Linked DNA regions of Homo sapiens: regions 1, 3, 4, 5 and 6 are each linked to region 2. The links are contacts of gene promoters, found by promoter capture Hi-C in blood cells and fetal thymus (Javierre and others, 2016). All regions are on one chromosome and are shown on one strand. Each heading gives the region's core, a stretch centred on a gene start or on the middle of the fragment in contact. The rest is flanking DNA. Distances are from core to core; before and after follow the strand shown.

Region 1 (3,272 bases), core at 719-3,218, 540 kb before region 2:
TGGTGAAACTCCGTCTCCACCAAGAATACAAAAATTAGCCAGGCGTGGTGGTGGGCACCTGTAATCCCAGCTACTGCACTCCAGCCTGGGCAACAGAGTGAGACTCTGTCTCAAAAGCAAAAACAAAAACAAAACAAAACACACACACACAAAGATAGATTTTTAGGAGTACTGGGGTTATTCTTCAACAGGTCCAGGTATCCCCTTCATTCAAGTGGTCCTGGGTCAGTAAAGTGGCTGATGTCCAGCAATTCACTGAGGGGTTATGAATCAATTTTTATGATACATGTTAAACTTTTGTTCATCTGACCTAGAAATTTTCTGCATATACAGATCAAGTAAGAAAATATTTCACTTCTAGGAACACCCTGATAAACTTGCCAATGCCAAAGGTCTTCATGAGTCAGACTATTCTGATTGCTGCCTTGATTCTGCTGTTCATCATGGCAACCACACCCCCCTTGCCTCTGTTGGTTGAGTCCCAAAACTTGGAACCTGCCACTCTGGGCAGGGGTGGGATCCAATGACTCCCATTGCATTTAGGCTTCCCGATTCTGTGAGTGCAGTTTCCATCGAAAGGCCAGGCCTACAGAGTAGGGTGATCACAGAGCTCTCCAAGGATGTGCTCCCCTCATGATGTTATGTTTCACGGTACTAGTGAAAGGTGTGTCTTTTGAACCTTCCCAGTGTGGGTGAATAGGCCTTAAATGACAAATTCACTCTAGCATGCCAATCTCCCTAAGCTTCTGAATTCCTTTCCCTACATAAAACCAAGGCAGGTACGGCATTTCCAATTTGCTCACCATGGACCAGGTTTTGGTCCATGTTTTCCATGTTTGAGCCAACCAACTGAAGTGTTAGAGCTTTTTCTTTTCTTTCCTTTTTTTTTCCCCCAAGACAGAGTCTTGCTCTGTCACCCAGACTGGAGTGCAGTGGCTCGATCTCAGCTCACTGCAACCTCTGCCTCCTGAGTTCAAGCAGTTCTCCTGCCTCAGCCTCCCGAGTAGCTGGGATTACAGGTGCCCGCCACCACATCTGGCTAATTTTTGTATTCTTGGTAGAGACAGGGTTTCACCATGTTGGCCAGACTGGTCTCGAACTCTTGACCTCATGATCTGCCCTCCTCAGCCTCCCAAACTGCTGGGATTACAGGCGTGAGCCACCTTGCCTGGCCTTTTTGTTTGTTTGTTTGTTTTTTGACAGGGTCTCACTCTATCAGCCAGGCCAGAGTATGGCTCACTGCAGCCTCGACCTCCCAGGCTCAAATGGTCCTCCTACCTCAGCCTCCTGAGTAGCTTGGACTACAGGAACACACCATCATGCCTGGCTGGCTTTTTTTTTGAGATGGAGTCTCACTCTGTCACCCAGGCTGGAGTGCAATGGCACGATCTTGGCTCACTGCAACCTCTACCTCCCGGGTTCAAGTGATTCTCCCACTTCAGTCTCCTGAGTAGCTGGGACTACAGGTGCATATCAGCATGCCCAGCTAATTTTCATATTTTTAGTACAGATGGGGTTTCACTATATTGGCCAGAGTGGTCTCAAACTCGTGACCTCAAGTGATCTGCCCACCTCAGCCTCCCAAAGTGCTGGGGTTACAGGCATGAGCAACTGTGCCCAGCAAGTAATTTATAAATTACACTTTACCATAGGTATGTGTATATAGAAAAAAGCATAGTATATGTAGGGTTCGGTACTAACCACAGTTTCAGTCTTCCACTGGGGGTCTTGGAACATATTCCCTTAGGCTAAGAGGGGACTACTCTACTTGAGTTTTCTAATTTATATGGACAGAAATGGGAGAGCATGTGTGAGAATGGATACTAAGGGTATGCGATGATGGTGGAAAGAACATAAGGTTGGGTCAGGCTAAATTAATTGATTTGGGCCCACTAAGCAGAGATTCTGCCTTTAATTCTTCAGTTTAGGGAGTTAGAAAGGCTCTACGACAGGTGTGGTGGCTCAAGCCTGTAATCCCAGGATGCTGGGAGGCTGAGAAGACAGGATCCCTTGAGCCCAGGACTTTGAGACCAGCCTGGGCAACATAGCAAGACCTTGACTGCACTAAAAAAAAAAAAAAATTAGGCCAGGCATGGTGGCTTGAGCCTGTAATCCCAGCACTTTGGGAGGCCAAGGCAGGCAGATCACCTGAGGTCGGGAGTTTGAGACCAGCTGGTGCAACATGGCAAAACTCTGTCTCTCCTAAAAAAAAAAAAAAAAAAAAAAAAAAATTAGCCAGGCGTGGTGGTGTGTGCCTGTAGTCCCAGCTACTCAGGAGGCTGAGACAGGAGAATCACTTGAACCCAGGAGGTGGAGGTTGCAGTGAGCTAAGATTGTGCCACTGCACTCCAGCCGGGTGACAGAGTGACACTCTGTCTCAAAAACAAACAAACAAACAAACAAAAATTAGGCACCGGAAGAGATTAACAATAACTAATAATAAAATAGAACAATTATAACAACATGCTGTAATGAAAGTTGTCAGTCACTGTAGTCTAACTTGCAATTTGAGGTGTGACAGCAAAACTAGCATGAATTTCATTACTTTTTCCTTCTTCACAGTTTCACAGATAAAAGATTTGTTCTTACTATAGATCTTAGCAACCTCAACATATGAGTTTTTTTCTTTCCTTATTAAGTTGAGCACTTTCACCTCCTTACTTAGAAGAAGTACTTGACAGCTTTTCTTTGGCATATCTGAATTGCCAGCATCACTACTCTTACTTTGGGGCTACTATTGAGTGAAATAAAAGCCACTTGCACACAAACACTGTGATACCATGACAGTCAATCTGATAACTGAGACAGCTACTAAGTGAAAATGAGTGAATAGCATACACAGTGCAGGTATGCTGGACAGAGGGATGATTCGCACCCTGGGTGGGATGGTGTAAGTTTTTTTTTTAATTTATTGTGTTATTTTATTTATATTCTTTATTTCTTTTAAACAACCCTAAGTCCATTTAGCAATGACACGATATTTTATCACACTACTCAGAACAACACGCAATTGAAATTATGAGTTGGTTGGGCATAGTGATTCATGCCTATAATTCCAGCGTTTTGGAAGGCCAAGGTGGGAGGCACCATTGAGGCTAAGAGTTCAAGACCAACGTGGACAACACAGTGAGACCACCATCTCTACAAAAACAAAACAAAACAAAACAAAACGATACAAAACAAAAAAATTGGCCAAGCTTGGTGGTGCACACCCGTAGTCCCAGCTAACTTGGGAGGCAAGATGGGAAGATGGATTGAGCCCAGGAGTTCAA
Region 2 (3,115 bases), core at 30-2,529:
TTATAAAACCAGGCCTTAGAATAAAATCAAATTCAGCAGCCACAGTCAGCTCCCTTATGGTTGTCTCTTACAGGTTTCATTGGGAGTCACCCATTTAAAGAGGAGGGGGAAGGAAAGAGTTGTGCACTGGTGTATCCATGGGGCCTTGGGTAGCTTCCCATCCCTCTCCAGGCCTCAGTTTCCTCATCTGTGAAATGGGAAAGCAATCCTGTCACTCTAAAAGCTCTCTGGGGATAGCCACATAGACGGTTCCATGGCCCTTTCCTTCCCTCTCCTCACCCTCTGTAGCAAAGATTTCTTGACTTTATAACAAAATACTAAAAGTGTTGTTGCTGTTGGCCTGGGGGCCTGTAGTTGGCCCAGGGGACAGAGCAGCTTCCCAGCCTCCTCTGCCTTCCAGCCGTGTGTGCACAGACAGTCATTCTCCTCCTCCTGTCCCCAGGTGTCCTAACCACCCCCTCTCCAAGAGCTGACTGCCAAGTCCAGTCCTTCTTCTGCTGGGCACACAGAGGCCACACTATCTTTCTGAGGGCCTGCGGAGGACTTTTCATGGGGGATGAGCCTCTAGGGGGTGAAATAAAGCACATGGCCCACGCTGGGAGACAGAGATCCCAGGATGTTGGATGTGTGGCTGCCTCTCTTGGGGAAAGGGTGGGTACCCTCCAACAACTGGACGCTCACCTGAGAAGCCTTGCCAAAGCCAGGGGCTCCCAACCCAGTGTGTGTAAGAATCCCCTGGTGGGGTGGGGGTGGGATCCCAGGGGCTTGTCCAAGAGCAGGTTTCCTGGCTGCTAACATAGGAAGGTGCCATTGAACAGGCCTGGATTCTGCATTTTCCATGAGTCCTCTAAGGCTGTGCTGAGGCAGGGGTTCCCTGACACTGTTCTTTTGAGAAACACAGGTGTGGTGACTTATTCTCCAGGCCCAAGATGGGTTGTACAAGCGCCTAGCATTTCAAAAGGAATGGAGGTGATGGAAGGTCCAGGAGCTGTCCCTTCCTCTGCCTCAGTGTGCTAAGGAGAGCTCCAGACACAGTGGCTGTCACTAACTCTTCCCCCTCCCACCCTGCCCCCAGCAGGTGCCAGGCAGGGCCCCAGGAGAAGGGGACTCAGGCCACAGCAGGCAGAGGACAGCTGAGCTTGGGATCAAATACTGACCTCCAGTCTCCAGGGCTGTGTGTGTCCAGGGGTCCGGGAGGAGTGTCATATGGCCCCTTCGAGCTCTTGGTTCTCAGCTCCGGCGACAAGCCGAGGGGCTGCCACTTTCTAAGTTCCCCGTTTGAAAACAGGAAACAGGCTGTGTGACCTGCTTCTGATCGCCCCAGCCCATTGGCTGGTGAAACATGGTATATTGAACTCAACTGCCAGCCTGCCAGCTGTACCCACCTCTTCTTCCGGGTAGCGCAGGGAAGGGCAAGGCGGTGTGGGGCCAGCCCTGTGGGATTTAGCTCAGCCTCACTTTCCCTGCCGCCTTGCAGAGGTCTGGCTGTCCTTCGAGTCCCCGTTGATCTCTGGAATTCAGGCATTAGCTCCCAGAGCCCTTTAACATTCATTATTCTACTCTATGAGCTAGGCATGATGGGGGCCGTCATGCCCCTTGAACAGATGGGAAAACCGAGGCTTGGATCACAGAGCTGGTGGGACACAGAGCCAGTGACTGACATAGAAGAGCAGTGGGGTAGAATTACAGTTCCATCTGGTGCCTTTTCTCTGAGCAAAGCTGTATCCATCACCACCAACAGAAAGTCCCAGGGAAGCGAAACCCCAGGGCAGTGTGGTGTGATTCATGCCCACCCATCTTTGTGGCCTTGAAGGCAAGAAACAGAAATCAGACAAAAAAAAAAAAAATAGAACTTTGCTGGCTCGCCCAGAAGTTTGCCATGTGTTTTTTTTTGAGCCATGATTCCCTTCCTCCCTATTAGAGGCAGTCACAGTCCTGATTCAGATGGGGGTTACTTCTTGGCTTTTCCTTAGAAATTTACCACCTATGAGATCCCCAAACAATTCAGTTTCATTTTACTCATCTGTGAATCTTATATAAATTGAACCATGCATACTGTGTGTATTCTCCAGTGCCTTGCTTCTTTCATGCAACATTTATGGGTATAAGATTCACTGATGCATTTCTGTGTAGATACTTTTTTTCATTTCCATTGTTGTGTTGCTACATTATTATTATTATTTATTTTACTTTAAGTTCTGGGATACCAGTGTAGAACCTGCAGGTTTGTTACATAGGTATATATGTGCCGTGGTGGTTTGCTGTACCTATCAACCCATCATCTAGGTTTTAAGCCCTGCATGCATTAGGTATTTGTCTTAATGCTCTCCTTCCCCCTGGCCCCCACCCCTGACAGGCCCCAGCGTGTGATGTTCCCCTCCCTGTGTCCATGTGTTCTCACTGTTCAACTCCCACTTATGAGTGAGAACATGCTGTGTTTGGTTTTCTGTTGCTTCATTATTTAAATACATCACCATTTGTCATTTTTTGTTTTGTCTTTTGATGCACACTTGGGTTGTTCCTAGGGTGGCCATCATGATCAATGCCACTGATGATATTCTTACACATTTATCCAAGTCCATGTACTTATCTGAGGTGAAATTGCTGGGTCTCAGAGTATAGATAGCTTCAACTGTGCTAGATTACGCCAAATATTTTCCACAGTGGCTGTGCCATTTTGTATTCCCACCAGCAGTATATGAGAATTCCAGGTGCTCCACCTTCTTACCTGCACTTGATATGGTCATTATTATAATTATTTTAAAGATGGGGTCTTGCTCTATCACCCAGGCTGGAGTGCAATGGTACCATCATAGCTGACTGCAACCTAGAACTCCTGGGCTCAAATGATCCTCCCACCTCAGCCTCCTGAGTGGCTAAGACTACAGTTACGTCACCATGCTTGGCTAATAAATTTTTTTTGTTTCTGGAGGGATAGACCATCATGGCCACTATGTTGCCCAGGCTGGTCTTGAACTCCTGGCCCCAAGCAATCCTCCTGCCTTGGGCTCCCAAAGTACTGAGATTACCAATGTGAGCCACTGTGTCTGGTTTGGTCAGTGTTTTTCAGTGTACCACTGCATTAATGTGCAGTGGTCTCTCATCAAGGTTTTAA
Region 3 (3,127 bases), core at 425-2,924, 640 kb before region 2:
CATATTAAAAGCTCCATGTTGGCTGGGCACGATGGCTAATGCCTGTAATCCCAGCTGCTTGGGAAGCCAAGGCAGGCAGATCGCTTGAGCTCCGGAGGCCGGGGCTGCAGTGAGCTATGATTGTACCACTGCATTCCATCCTGAGCGACAGCGTGACACTCTGCCTCAAACGAATGAATGAATGCATGCATGAATGTCCCGAGTGGCCCTGCAGTAGAGAAACCTGTTAAACTGCCTGCTTTTCTGCCATTTCACCAAAGACTTGTTCACATTATTTGGGGGACAGAGAGTGTTTGTTGTGGTTTCTGTCTGTCCAGTTGCTCTTTTTTAATTGGAGAAGAGGCATGCAAATGTATTGAACATCCCACAGAGAGAATCACAGAGTGGTTGCCTTGCCCAGCTCCCTCTGAGCACCCGTGCTAGATTTGGGGAATGCTGGCTATGTCAGTCCATCCTCTCTCAGGACAACCCAGAAAACTTTGGACTCCTGCATTTGGGACCCAGGCATGCGAGGAGGTGGTAAAGCTGTGTTTCCGTGGCAGGGCACTCAGTGGGACTCAGTGGTGGTGGCATCAGTTTCCTCATCCGACCAGTTCCGTAAGATGGGTTTGGGCATTTTTTTTCTTCTGGAACTTTAGCCTTGAACCAGTCTCTCTAGACCACTCCAAAATCCTGAAGTACCCAATATCCTTTAAATAATTGGCTTTCAGTTTACTCAAAGTCAGCTTCTCTTGCTTGCTTGACTGCTAGAGTGGTACACAGCAGTTGTGTTCCAGGAGCATGCTGTGGAGAGTTGATCTAACAGATGAGAGTGCTTCCAATCAAGCCTCATGCCATCTGGCAGGTAAGAGAGCTCAGGGCCACGTGCAGTGGAAGGACCCAGACTTGGCAGATCAATGTGGATTACAGTCCCATTTCCTCCATTAGCCAGTGGGGCAAGTGACTTATTCTCTCTGAACCTTAATTTCATTTAGGCCTATTAGATAGCTATCTTGCAGAATAGCTAGAAGGATGAAATGAAATAATGTATGTAAAAGATAGCTTTCCAGCTTTTTTTTTAAAATCACAAACTAATTTTTGAGTCGCTATTCTGAGTACTTGTTATAGGTGTATCTTGAGTACCCAAGAGTGCTGGCATCTATGGAAGATGCTCAATTGCTGTTGAACAAATGGATGAATCTTGACTTTGGTATTGAAACTGAGTTTTTATATAAATACGTAAATACACTAAAACATAAATTTTATTTATTTATTTATTTTCAGTTGGGGTCTTGCTCTGTCACCCAGGCTGCCGTGCAGTGGCACAATCATGGCTCACTGCAGCCTCCAACTCCTGGGATCAAGCAATCCTCACACCTCAGCCTCCCAAAGTGCTGGGATTACAGGCTCTCACCATTCCTAGCTAACTTTTTAATTTTTTGTAGCGACAGGGTCTCACTTTGTTGCCTAAGCTGGTCTTGAACTCCTGAGCTCAAGTGATCGTCCCACTTTGGCCTCAGATTTGTAATTTAAGTAACGGTAGAGAAACTAAAATAACTAAGTCTATTGTAAGTTCATTAAGTAAATTAAAAAAGAAATATATCCTTGCTAGAAGATGAGTTTTAAATTCTGTCTCCTACAATTATCAGATTTATTTTTTTTCCTGACCTACCCTGAAAACCATTTAAAAACAAATTGTTCTGGAATGTTTTAAACACATGCAAACATAGAGAGAGTGGTATAATGAACTCCCATCACCCAACTTGAGCAATTATCAACATATAGCCAATCTTGTTTCTTATACAGGTTCAGAATCCTTTATCCAAAATGCTTAGGACAAGAAGTGTTTCAGATTTCACATTTTGGAATATTTGCTTTATGTTTACAGGTTGAGCATTCCAACTCCAAAACTCTCTAATCTGAGTGCTGCAAAACAAGCATTTCCTTTAAGTGTCCGGTTAGCACTCAAAACATTTTGGGCCAGGCATGGTGGCTCATGGCTGTAATCCCAGCACTTTGGGAGGCCGAGGCAAGCGGATCACCTGAAGTCAGGAGTTCAAGACCAGCCTGGCCAACATGGCAAAACCCCGTCTCTACTAAAAATACAAAAATTAGCCAGGCGTGGTGGCAGGTGCCTGTAATCCCAGCTACTTGGGAGGCTGAGGAAGGAGAATCACTTGAACCTGGGAGGCAGAGGTTGCAGTGAGCTGAGATTGTGCCACTGCACTCCAGCCTGGGCGACAGAGTGGACTCTGTCTCAAAACAAAAACGTTTTGAATTTTGGAGCTTTTCAGATTTTCGATTTTCAGTTTTGAGATGCTCAGCCTACCCTATTTCAACTTGCTCCCTCACCCCCACAAAGGATTATTTTGAAGCAAATCACAGACATCACTTGATATAGAAATCTTCCAGTAACTATCTCCAAAAGTTAAGAAAAATTTTACATATAACTACAATACTATATCATACCTGAAACGCTAATAATTTTGTAGCAATTTTATACCAAATATTCTGCTTAAACTCCTCCAACTGTCCCATAAATGTATCCTTTAGAGTTGGGTTATTTGAATTGAGATCCAGAAAAGGATACTTGAATAGTAGCAATTGCACAACCTAGGACCTAGGTTTCTGAAATCCCTGTTTCTGAATTCTATCTGATTACATATGTGAACTCAATTTATGCATATGGAATACACTTTCAATAAATGACATACAGTTAGTGGATGGATGGGTACAGACATTTTTTTTAAAAAAAGGAGAGAGATAACAAAATGACGTACAGTGACTTCTGCTGAGATCTTCCACAATAAACCAGCAGCATTATCATGGTGAACATCACTACCATCTCTTCACGTGCTAACAGCCACATGGGAAATGGGACTCCAGCATGCAAGGCACAACGCATCCTTAGAGAGCACCCAGTCCCGATGACAGCATGGGGTTAGGAAGGAGACCATGAGGAAGAAAGTGGAATGGGTATGTTTAAATGTATGCAGCGATAGACAAAGATGTTGGACATTAGGGGAAAAATAATGACAAATTGATGGAAAACCAGGATAAGAAAAAAAAGGCGATTACTAATTCCAAGAACAAAGAAAGGAATTGTGGTTTAGTGGGCTTCTTAGTTCAGCAGTGAGCAAAATTTGCA
Region 4 (3,325 bases), core at 211-2,710, 600 kb before region 2:
ATTACCCATTTTAAGAAATGTTGGTTGATAATGTTAAGTTTAAGTTGGCGTTATATATTTTCAGAGAAAAAAAAAGCTTCCTTCTTTCTTTAGTCTTAGAGAAATGCTTTATTATAGTCTTTACAGAAAGGCAGGAAGCAAGTCTGTCTGCTCCATAGCAAGTTCTACAGGTCACATAAGGGCTCGTTAGTAGTGTGTGTTAGCGCAGCCATTCCAAGAAAGACATCTAAGCTAAGCATCTAAAAGCAGGTTTGGTGTTTCTAAGTGCCTGGTGTCTGAAATGAACTCTTGTTTAAATCTTAGTATGCCCAGCTACTTCTTGACACAGTAGATAAGTTTCAGGGTGAATTCTGTTCAGAATTCCTGAATATTTGTCTGTTCTCTCCAGCTAACTAAGTGACGCTTGGGGAATAGCCATGCAGATAGATGGAAACCCAGTTAACGGGGGCATGCTCCACTGTACCAAGAGGAATTATAATGCTCGTTTGTACTTCTGGCACTTCATGACTTTTCTTTTACCTACCCCATTCCCCGTGTGCTCTATTCCAAGCGCAAAAATCTTCTAGTAGGCTTTCACTAAGGAAATTCCCCAAAAACATTTTCCCAACCATTGAGAGTTGGTCATTTACTTTTTTTTTTTTTTTTAAGCCCACTGACAAGGAACTGAGAGAGACTATAGCATTGCTGACAGCCCAACAGACTGCTCTGGAAATTATTGTCAACATGTGCTGCAATGAAGGTTTGTTAACATTTACATTTAGACATTTTCCCCCTGAGCCAAGAGGGAAACTCCCGTGGAGATTTTCTTAACTATTCCAGTTCTGCGTGGTTTGCCCGCTTCCCAGATCCCTCTGATGACGAATGGGAAGAGCTTTCTAGCAGTGATGAAAGTGACGCATTTATGGAGAATTCCTTCAGTGAGTGCGGGGGACAGCTGTTTTCTCCCCTCTGCCTCTCCCATGAAGTTCACACGGCTCTCACCAACTACCTCATCCCAAAGAAGGTAATCCATTTTCATTCTAGGCTTACCGTGGAGCATGGGAAAGGCTTAAGCAAGGTATTCATTTTGTGTACAAAAGAAGCAAGCTCACACTTCCAGGTTGTAGATGGTGGTAAGATCTGAGACAAAGCTGAGCCTAACAGTACTGGAAATAGGCGAAAAGGTCATTCTATATGAAGCCTAACCATTTCACTTAGGAGTAATATGTTGGAATTATGTAAGGGAATCGTGTTAAATGACTACTCTTTAACCTTTGCTTTACTGCCTCTTTTAAATCTAGATTTTTGAGAAAACTGCCTTTCCAAACAGCATTGCAGTTGACCTATGTTCTAGGAACCCTACTTGGAAACCTTTGATTAGAAAGTAAGAACTCTTCTGCTTTCAAAAACATTTGTCATTATTTTATTTTATGAAATGATGGGCTATTAAATAGAAGGTGCTGACTCCCCCTAGGACCCAGAAGTTTTGTTCCTGGGTATATATACCAGAAAAATATGTGCCCACATGCCCTAGAATACATGTATATGAGAGTGTTCATAGCAGTGTGTGTCACAGTTGCCCCAACCCATAAACAAACGTGTTGTCCATCAGAGTTAGAATGGTAAATAAATTTTGACAAAATCACGCAGTACAATACATGCAGCAGTAAAAGGGATCTGAATTAGAGCTACTCACAACTCGGATGGAACTTACATTGTTGAACCAAAAAAGCGAGACATAAAAGAATACACACACTGTGATTCAGTTTTTACAAAGTTGAGAAACAGGCAACATTGAACTATTTTGTTCAGGGATGCATACCTTGGTGATAAACCTATTAAAAAAAAAAAGAGGCAAGGAAATGTTTACCATAGAAGTCTGTATGGTGCTTACCTGTAGGTGTCAGGGAGGTGGGATATTATATGGAAGAGATACAGGGGCTTTCAGGGTCCAGCAGTGTTAATTTCTTTCCCAGGTGCATGGGTTTTGGTTTCATAGACTGTTTGTTAAACTCTCTATGTATGTTGTGTACTTAACTGTATATATGTCACATTTCACAATTAAAAATAATTTTAGGCTGGGCATGGTGGCTCACACCTATAATCCCAGGACTCTGGGAGGCCAAGGTAGGAGGATCACTTGAGGCCAGGAGTTTGAAACCAGCCTGGGCAGCATAGCAAGACCCCATCTCTACAAAGGAAAAAAAAATACAAAAATTAGCCTGGCATAGTGGCACTCAGCTGTAGTCCTAGCTACTTAGGAGGCTGAAGTGGGAGGATTGCTTGAGCTCAGCAGTCTAAGGCTGTAGTGAGCTATGATGGTGACACTGTACTCCAGCCTGGGAAACAGAATGAGACCCTGTCTGAAGAAAATTATAATTTTAAGGATGCTACCCTACATAGAAATTTTTCTAAAACATATTCCTCATGACTCATGAATGAGTTGTGTATCAGAGGCCGTGAATATTCAAGCAGTTTGATTTGGCAGATTAACAGTTCACCTTATAATTCTAGCACTTTGGAAGGTACAGGCAGGAGGATTGTTTGAGGCCAAGAGTTCCAGAGCAGCCTGGGCAACATAGCAAGACCCCTATCTACAAAAAATAAAAAACTTAGCCAGGTGTGGTTGCATGCACATGTAATCCTGCTCCTTAGGAGGCTGAGGCAGGAGGATCACTTGTGCTCAGGAGGTTGAGGCTACAGCGAGCTGTGATCACACCACTGCACTCCAGCCTGGGCAACAGAGTAAGACCCTGTCTAAAAAATGATGATAAATTTTAGAAAACACAAAAAACAGTTCACCTTGTGATTCTTTGCTAACTGCCATAGATACCTTGTATTTACAGATATTTCCAGTCAGAACGTGAAGCTTAGGCTAAAAGTTAATACTGAATTCTGATGGGCAACTTCTGGAGAATCAGATGGCATTGTTTCACTTCCTTTCCAGAATGAACACTATTCAGTGCAGAGCCCTCTTCTGTCTCCAGAGTCTTGTGTCCCTCCTGGATGTGGAGCACCTGGGAGGAGCCGCAGCCCTTCAGACGCTTGCACAGCATCTGTCACAGCTGCTTTTTTCTCAACCAGGTATTTAGACTTTATTGCGAAAGACTACGCAGACGGAACAGAATTTTGAAGGGGCAGGAATTTGGATTTTGTAAATGTATATTGTTTGTCATCCAATGTGCAGAAACCTTTCCCAGACACAGGAATCATGTATTTATAGTTGCCATGGGGTACAGAGTCAAAACGAGGTATGCAAGCAGCTCCTGGGCTTATAATTTTCTTTTTTGTTAAAATTGTTTGCATCCAGTTATATCAGGCCAGTCAAGGCTGTATCATAAATATC
Region 5 (3,149 bases), core at 377-2,876, 530 kb before region 2:
CCCGGCCCCGGCCCCGGCCGGCATGTATCGCTCCGGGGAGCGCCTGCTGGGCAGCCACGCGCTGCCCGCGGAGCAGCGGGACTTCCTGCCCCTAGAGACGACCAACAACAACAACAACCACCACCAGCCCGGGGCCTGGGCCCGCCGGGCGGGCTCCTCGGCGTCCTCGCCTCCCTCGGCGTCCTCGTCCCCGCACCCTTCGGCCGCCGTCCCCGCCGCCGATCCAGCCGATTCGGCCTCGGGCAGCAGCAACAAGAGGAAGCGCGACAACAAGGCCAGCACGTATGGACTCAACTACAGCCTGCTGCAGCCCAGCGGAGGGCGGGCCGCGGGGGGCGGCCGAGCAGACGGCGGCGGGGTCGTGTACAGCGGGACCCCGTGGAAACGGAGGAACTACAACCAGGGAGTCGTGGGGTGAGTGCTGGCTCTGCGGCCCGATGGCCTGGCCGGTGCGAATGCGCAGCCGGGCACACGCCCACAGAGGGGGGTTGTGAGGGTCTAGGAGCGGCCACCCCCACGGCCTGCCTTCGCTGCTGTTGCACGGGGGTGCTGCTGGCCATCCCCAACCCCCCAGTCGTTCACACCTTTCCCCAAGCCTCCTTAGCCGTCCACACCCTCCGTCTCCTGTCCTCCCTTAGTCGTCCACACCTTCCTCCCCTCCCTCTTAACCGTCCACACCTTCCCCAGGCCCCCCCCTTTATCCATTCACTCTCCTCCCATCCCCCTTAGTTAAACACATCTACCCTTGACCACCACCCCGCCTCCAGCCCTCCACACCTTTTTCCCCATCATCACAACTCAAGATGAGACCGCTTAGCACGGGCCTATCATTCATTCCCTGAGAACATTGGTGTGTGAGTGTTTTTTGATGGTGCAGGACCCGGAGGTGCTTTCCTTGCCAAGAATAGAAACATCCAGAATGCTCCTCCCCATCCCCCAATCCCAGACAGCAATTATGTCAGCCCTGTAAGGCATTGCCTGCTCTTGACCCTTTGGCCCATCTTTTTATTTTTAAAAAATTCCCATGTCACAGATGCCCTGTCTATGCAGAGGGTGGCGTGGGATGGGTGACCACTAAGTTTAGGCTGGTGAAGGTGGTGAGCCCTTCTGAGGCCCTGATAGAACTTTCCAGGAGTTCATGGTCCGCGGCTCCAGCTTCTCACTGTAAAGTTGTCATCCTGGCAGAGGCAGCCAATGCTTTTCATTCTAGGGGGTAGAGATTTATGCTAATGAGTGAATATTGCACCACTAGTGACTTTCTGTTTAAAGTTCAGCTCTTAGAAAATGGAATCTTACCTGACCCCTAGTGAATTATGTACATAAGCAGGGAATGTTTCCAACTAGATCTCCCTTCAGAAGAGTCCCTGTGCTGGAATAGGTCACTGAATCTTATTTGTTTTGTAAAACAAAGCTTTTGGGTCTCGTGGGTGTGTGTGTGTGTGTGTGTGTGTGTGTGTGTGTGTGTGTAGCTTGAGTATGGAGAACCGGCTTTCAAATTGCTTTTCATTTTTCAGGTTGTGTTTTACATTGAGGGCTTTAGCATGCAAATGAAATTACCAATTAGTAATCCCATGTGAACCTTTTCCTGGATTTATTCATTCAGATCTGCCCTGCTTTGGCTGAGAGAGAGAGTTCTGTGTACCTTTTTGAAGGTCTGGATAAAATGAGTTGGTGGGTTCCATCTGCTTCCAGTGGGCTGGTGTCTGCTCTATGCTACTATTACAACTCCTACCTTTTGTGGAAAATGCAGTCAAGCGTTCTAGGACTGGTGCTGTGGTACATGTCAAACCTGCCCTCACATTCCAGAAAGGGAACCCTTTTAGGGTTGAGTCCTCTGTTGCTAAGCTTCAAGGGTGCTCTCCATGGTCATCACGTTTTATTAAAGGCTTGTGGTTCCATCCTGTTAGCATTTCCAAGTCTACGCGTAAACCTGTGGTTTAGTGACAAGCAAATTGATGTTGAGGGTTTCTGGTAGTTTCATTTCACAGGAGTAAGCTCCAGTTAGGTAATCACTGTCAACGAAAACCTTGAAGTTCCTTAATTGCATTTTACTGAAGCCTCTTTGCATGTGTCTAGCAAAAGATATAAGTCCAAGATGCTTATTTTTTTTTTGATAAATTAGAAATTGTCCTCTCCTCTACTTGCTATTTAATGCAGAAGATACTCTAAAAGGTTCATATTTATACTTAGAAGCAAGATGTTCTTGTTCCTGATTCAAATATATTGCCCTCAAAGGGATTAGGAGAGGAATTTTCATTTCCCGGAGGGATTACTGTTTAAAAACTGGTTGTAAACCTCTTTAAAAACTGCTTATCACTTCACCAGATTTTCCATTCTTTTGCCTCCTCCCTTAGAGGATGTCAGCAGTTAATTTTTTTTTTAAATTAAAAAAAGTTCAATTCTGAGACCTCCTAGTTTCAAAAAATACATTAAACAATTCCCAAGAGTGTTAAGAGTGTCTGGGTGCTTAGAAATTCTTGCTTTGATTCATGTATTCTGATTTTTTTTTTTTTTTTGAGACGGAGTTTCGCTCTTGTTGCCCAGGCTGGAGTGCAGTGGCTCGATCTCAGCTCACCGCAACCTCTGCCTCCCAGGTTCAAGCGATTCTGCTGCCTCAGCCTCCCGAGTAGCTGGGATTACAGGCGCTTGCCACCACGCCTGGCTAATTTTTTATTTTTAGTAGAGACGGGGTTTCTTCATGTTGGTCAGGCTGGTCTCGAACTCCTGACCTCAGGTGATCTGCCCGTCTTGGCCTCCCAAAGGACTGGGATTACAGGCATGAGCCACCGTGCCCGGCCTCATTATCCTGATTTCTTTTTTTTCTTTTGAGACTGGGTCTCACTCTGCTGCCTAGGCTGGAGTGGAGTGACGTGATCATAGCTCACTGTATCCTCTAACTCTTGGGCTCAAGTGATCCTCCTGCCTTAGCTTCCTGGAGTAGCTGGGACTACAGGCACATGTCACCACACCTGCCTAATTTTTTTATTTTTACTTTTTGTAGAGATGGGGCCTCCATTTGTTGCCTAGGCTGGTCTTCAACCGGCCTCAAGCAGTCCTCCCACCTTGGCCTCACAGAGTGCTGGGATTATAGGCATGAGCCACCATTCTCGCCAGTATCCTTATTTCTTAACTTTAGAAAGTTTTTCTAT
Region 6 (3,188 bases), core at 363-2,862, 560 kb before region 2:
TTCTCATCACTTGGGAATCTGAGGATGTGGCACCAGGATTCTCTGCTCCAGGAACACCAATTTCCCCACTTGAGTTACCCATCCTTTGTGTCTCTTCTCCAGGAGCTCGCACTCCAACCAATTAAGAAAAGATTTGGCTACAATGACACATTGGCTGGAAGACACACCCACAAACCCATGGACCACCGGACTGTGAGTAACAGTCCTTACTTATGCCTCCTTGCACCCCAGTGTTAAATATTGGTAGAATGAATAAATGAATGAATGAATGAAAGGCAAAGACAGCTATTTAGTCAAGTACCCAGATATTTCTTGAAAAGGATGTTATTGTGGCCAAGAGGCTGTGTGCCACCTTATTTATTTATGTATGTCACCCAGACTGGAATGCAGTGGTGCAATAATAGCTCACTGCAGCCTCTAACTCCTGGCCTCAAGTGATCCTTCCAGCTTGACCTCCCAAAGCTCTGGGATTACCAGGTGTGAGCTTTGCCTGGCCTAAGCATAACTTTTGATCTTCATAGGATCCAAAGTCATGAACTTGTAGCCACGTTGACAACTTGTCCGGCTTGAACAGATTGAATAATCAAGCAGACGTAGCCATAGTGTCACCTGTGAGAAACTGCAATATTTTATAGCTGCTTTGTTTGTTTTTTTGAGATGGAGTTTCACTATGTTGCCCAGGGTGGTCTTGAACTTCCTGGACTCAAGCAATCCTCTCGCCTCAGCCTCCTGAGTGGCTGGAACTATAGGGACTCACCACTGTGCTAGGCAAAATTGTAATGTCTTACAGACACATACACACACACAAAAAAAACTAATTATGATTTAAAAAGCTAGACAGAGATAATATCTTATAACTCAAGGTTTTTCAGCCATCAACACATAGATGTTGATTAATCATTCAACATTAATTATGGTTGTGTTTTTCAGGTCCTGTTTTAGAACTTTGAACAGGTCAATAATCTTGTATTGCTGTGGTCACAGTCCCTTGCTAATTACTGAAGGTAAATAAGATGTGATCACAAGAAACAGTCCACTCACTGTGTCTCACATATTCTCTATAGCCCTAAGAGAAATGACTTCCATTATATTTTAAGTTGGTTATATTGGCTAGTTTCTTTCTTTTTTCTTTTTTTTTTTGGAGATGGAGTCTTGCTCTGTCGCCCAGGCTGGAGTGCAGTAGCACGATCTTGGCTCACTGCAACCTCCTCCTCCCAGGTTCAAGCAATTCTCCAGCCTCAGCCTCCTGAGTAGCTGAGATTATAGGTGCCCACCACCACACCTGGCTAACTTTTGTATTTTTAGTAGAGACAGGGTTTCACCATGTTGTCCAGGCTGGTCTCGTTCTCCTGACCTCAAGTGATCCATCTGCCTTGGCCTCCCAAAGTGCTGGGGTTACAGGTGTGAGTCATCGCACCCAGCTATATTGGCTAGTTTCAAAACAGATCAGGGGCTATCCATTTGAAACCGTCCCACTAACATGATATGACAAGGTTTGTAAGTGATAAGCTTGGCAGCTTCGATTTCTGGCACAAGGTGTGTGGCCTCCCAGAGCTCTAGCCTGTCCTCTCTGACTCAGTTTTTCTTGCTCTGTAATGGGTTCTGTCCATTTGTCAGCCTGCAGATTTTCAGCTGGATTTTTTTTTCATGTCAGCCAAATAAATACAGAAATTGCTCCCCCCACCCTGATTATAATCATTTTGGCCACATTTTTCAAAGCTTACTCTTAGACCATCCCAAAACTCCAGGGTAACTCCATATTATTATTCAAATTTTTTCTCAAATTAAATGTCTGTTAGGCTGGTTACACAATCACAATAAGGGAAAAGCTTGGCCCTTTCATTTTGCATTTTACCTCAGAGAAGGTCCTTGTGGCTTGACTTTGCACATTACTGGAAACAGAATTTGCCTTTCTGCTCCTTTGTGAGGTAGTCAAAGCACGATGTGCATGTGGTTCCAAACACATTTAATTCTGTAGCTATTCTTTTGTTGAAGGCGCTCACCACAAAACATCCTGGAGGGGGATTACGGGGCAGGTGCAACAGACAAGGGTGTTTCCCGGATGGGGAAGGCAGAGCGCCAAGTAAAGGAGTAAGTGCTGAAGAAGGGATTTTACTTGAAATTGGAAGTCATAGGAGCTATTTGGTTTTGGGGGTGCATGTTTAAGTGATACATTTATAGATTAAAAACGAAATTCAGGCCATGTGCTGTGGCTCACACCTGTAATCCAGTACCTGCAGAGCCCCTCCTGCCTTGGCCTCCCCCAGAAAAACAAAGAATTTCAGAGTCAATAGCACGTTATGTTTTGACTACATCACAAAGAAGCAGAAAAGGGCCAGGCACCGTGTCTCACGCCTGTAGTCCCAGCACTTTAGGAGGCTGAGGCAGGCCGATCTTTTGCGTTCAGGAGCTCAAGACCAGCCTGGCCAACGTGGTGAAACCTCGTCTCTACTGAAAATACAAAAAAATTAATCGGGCATGGTGGCATGCACCTGTAGTCCCAGATACTTAGGATGCTGAGACAGGAGGATAGTTCGAACCCAAGAGACAGAGGTTGCAGTGGGTTGAGGTTGTGCCACTGTACTCCAGCCTGGGTGACAGAGTGAGTCTCCATCTCAAAAAAAACCCCCAAAACAAACAAATGACAACAACAAAAGCAGCAGAAAGGTAAATTCTTATTTTCCTCTTTTAAAAAAATTTCCTTTGTTTTAGGAATTCTTTTTCCAGACATGTGTCAAGCCAAGCCATGAGGGCCTTTTCCAAGGTAAAATGCAAAACAAGCGGGCCAAGCTTTTCCCTTATTTTTCCCTCCTTGCCTAGGAGTTTGAGACCAGCCTGGGCAACAGAGCAAGACCTCGTCCCTACAAAAAAATGAAAAAAAAGAAAACAAAAACAAAAACAAGTGGCTGGGTGCAGTGGCTCATGCCTGTAATCCCAGCACTTTGGGAAGCCGAGGTGGGCAGATCACGAGGTCAGGAGATCGAGACCATCCTGGCTAACACGGTGAAACCCCATCTCTACTAAAAATACAAAAACAATTAGCCAGGCATGGTGGCAGGCGCCTGTAGTCCCAGCTACTTGGGAGGCTGAGGCAGGAGAATGGCGTGAACCCAGGAGGTGGAGCTTGCAGTGAGCCGAGATGGTGCCACTGCACTCCAGCCTGGGCGAAAGAGCGAGACTCCGTCTCA

The links. Contacts are between HindIII fragments. The CHiCAGO score rates a contact against its expected background, and 5 or more counts as called.
Region 1: a fragment that was not itself captured here is called in contact with the fragment with the promoter of SNX20 in region 2 in 1 of 17 cell types (activated CD4 T cells); the score reaches 5.1 in activated CD4 T cells.
Region 3: a contact is called between a fragment that was not itself captured here and the fragment with the promoter of SNX20 in region 2, in 1 of 17 cell types (neutrophils). The highest score is 9.0, in neutrophils.
Region 4: a fragment that was not itself captured here is called in contact with the fragment with the promoter of SNX20 in region 2 in 8 of 17 cell types (total CD8 T cells, naive CD8 T cells, total CD4 T cells and 5 more); the score reaches 9.3 in total CD8 T cells.
Region 5: a fragment that was not itself captured here is called in contact with the fragment with the promoter of SNX20 in region 2 in 7 of 17 cell types (total CD8 T cells, activated CD4 T cells, non-activated CD4 T cells and 4 more); the score reaches 7.8 in total CD8 T cells.
Region 6: a contact is called between a fragment that was not itself captured here and the fragment with the promoter of SNX20 in region 2, in 3 of 17 cell types (total CD8 T cells, total CD4 T cells and naive CD8 T cells). The highest score is 7.8, in total CD8 T cells.

Annotation. Positions count from the first base shown.
Region 1 is chr16:50,137,007-50,140,278 of GRCh38, forward strand. No RefSeq gene overlaps it. Among named protein-coding and RNA genes, the nearest start is that of TENT4B, 15 kb to the right of the region's middle. The HindIII fragment of the contact is 2,454 bases long and covers 742-3,195 here.
Region 2 is chr16:50,680,033-50,683,147 of GRCh38, forward strand. It overlaps SNX20 (sorting nexin 20), which reads right to left and starts at 1,280. Exons shown (of 4, transcript NM_182854.4): 1 at 1,158-1,280. The HindIII fragment of the contact is 15,976 bases long and covers 1-3,115 here.
Region 3 is chr16:50,040,097-50,043,223 of GRCh38, forward strand. No RefSeq gene overlaps it. Among named protein-coding and RNA genes, the nearest start is that of CNEP1R1, 16 kb to the left of the region's middle. RefSeq lists a silencer at 1-148. The HindIII fragment of the contact is 9,784 bases long and covers 1-3,127 here.
Region 4 is chr16:50,083,289-50,086,613 of GRCh38, forward strand. HEATR3 (HEAT repeat containing 3) reads left to right here. Exons shown (of 15, transcript NM_182922.4): 8 at 649-739; 9 at 846-1,003; 10 at 1,281-1,363; 11 at 2,927-3,063. Among named protein-coding and RNA genes, the nearest start is that of HEATR3-AS1, 19 kb to the left of the region's middle. The HindIII fragment of the contact is 2,772 bases long and covers 75-2,846 here.
Region 5 is chr16:50,153,846-50,156,994 of GRCh38, forward strand. TENT4B (terminal nucleotidyltransferase 4B) reads left to right here. Exons shown (of 12, transcript NM_001365324.3): 1 at 1-414. Among named protein-coding and RNA genes, the nearest start is that of TENT4B, 2.1 kb to the left of the region's middle. RefSeq lists silencers at 1-10, 131-300 and enhancers at 1,112-1,161, 2,021-2,080. The HindIII fragment of the contact is 434 bases long and covers 1,410-1,843 here.
Region 6 is chr16:50,119,964-50,123,151 of GRCh38, forward strand. No RefSeq gene overlaps it. Among named protein-coding and RNA genes, the nearest start is that of TENT4B, 32 kb to the right of the region's middle. RefSeq lists silencers at 1,503-1,592, 1,883-1,942 and an enhancer at 3,167-3,188. The HindIII fragment of the contact is 210 bases long and covers 1,508-1,717 here.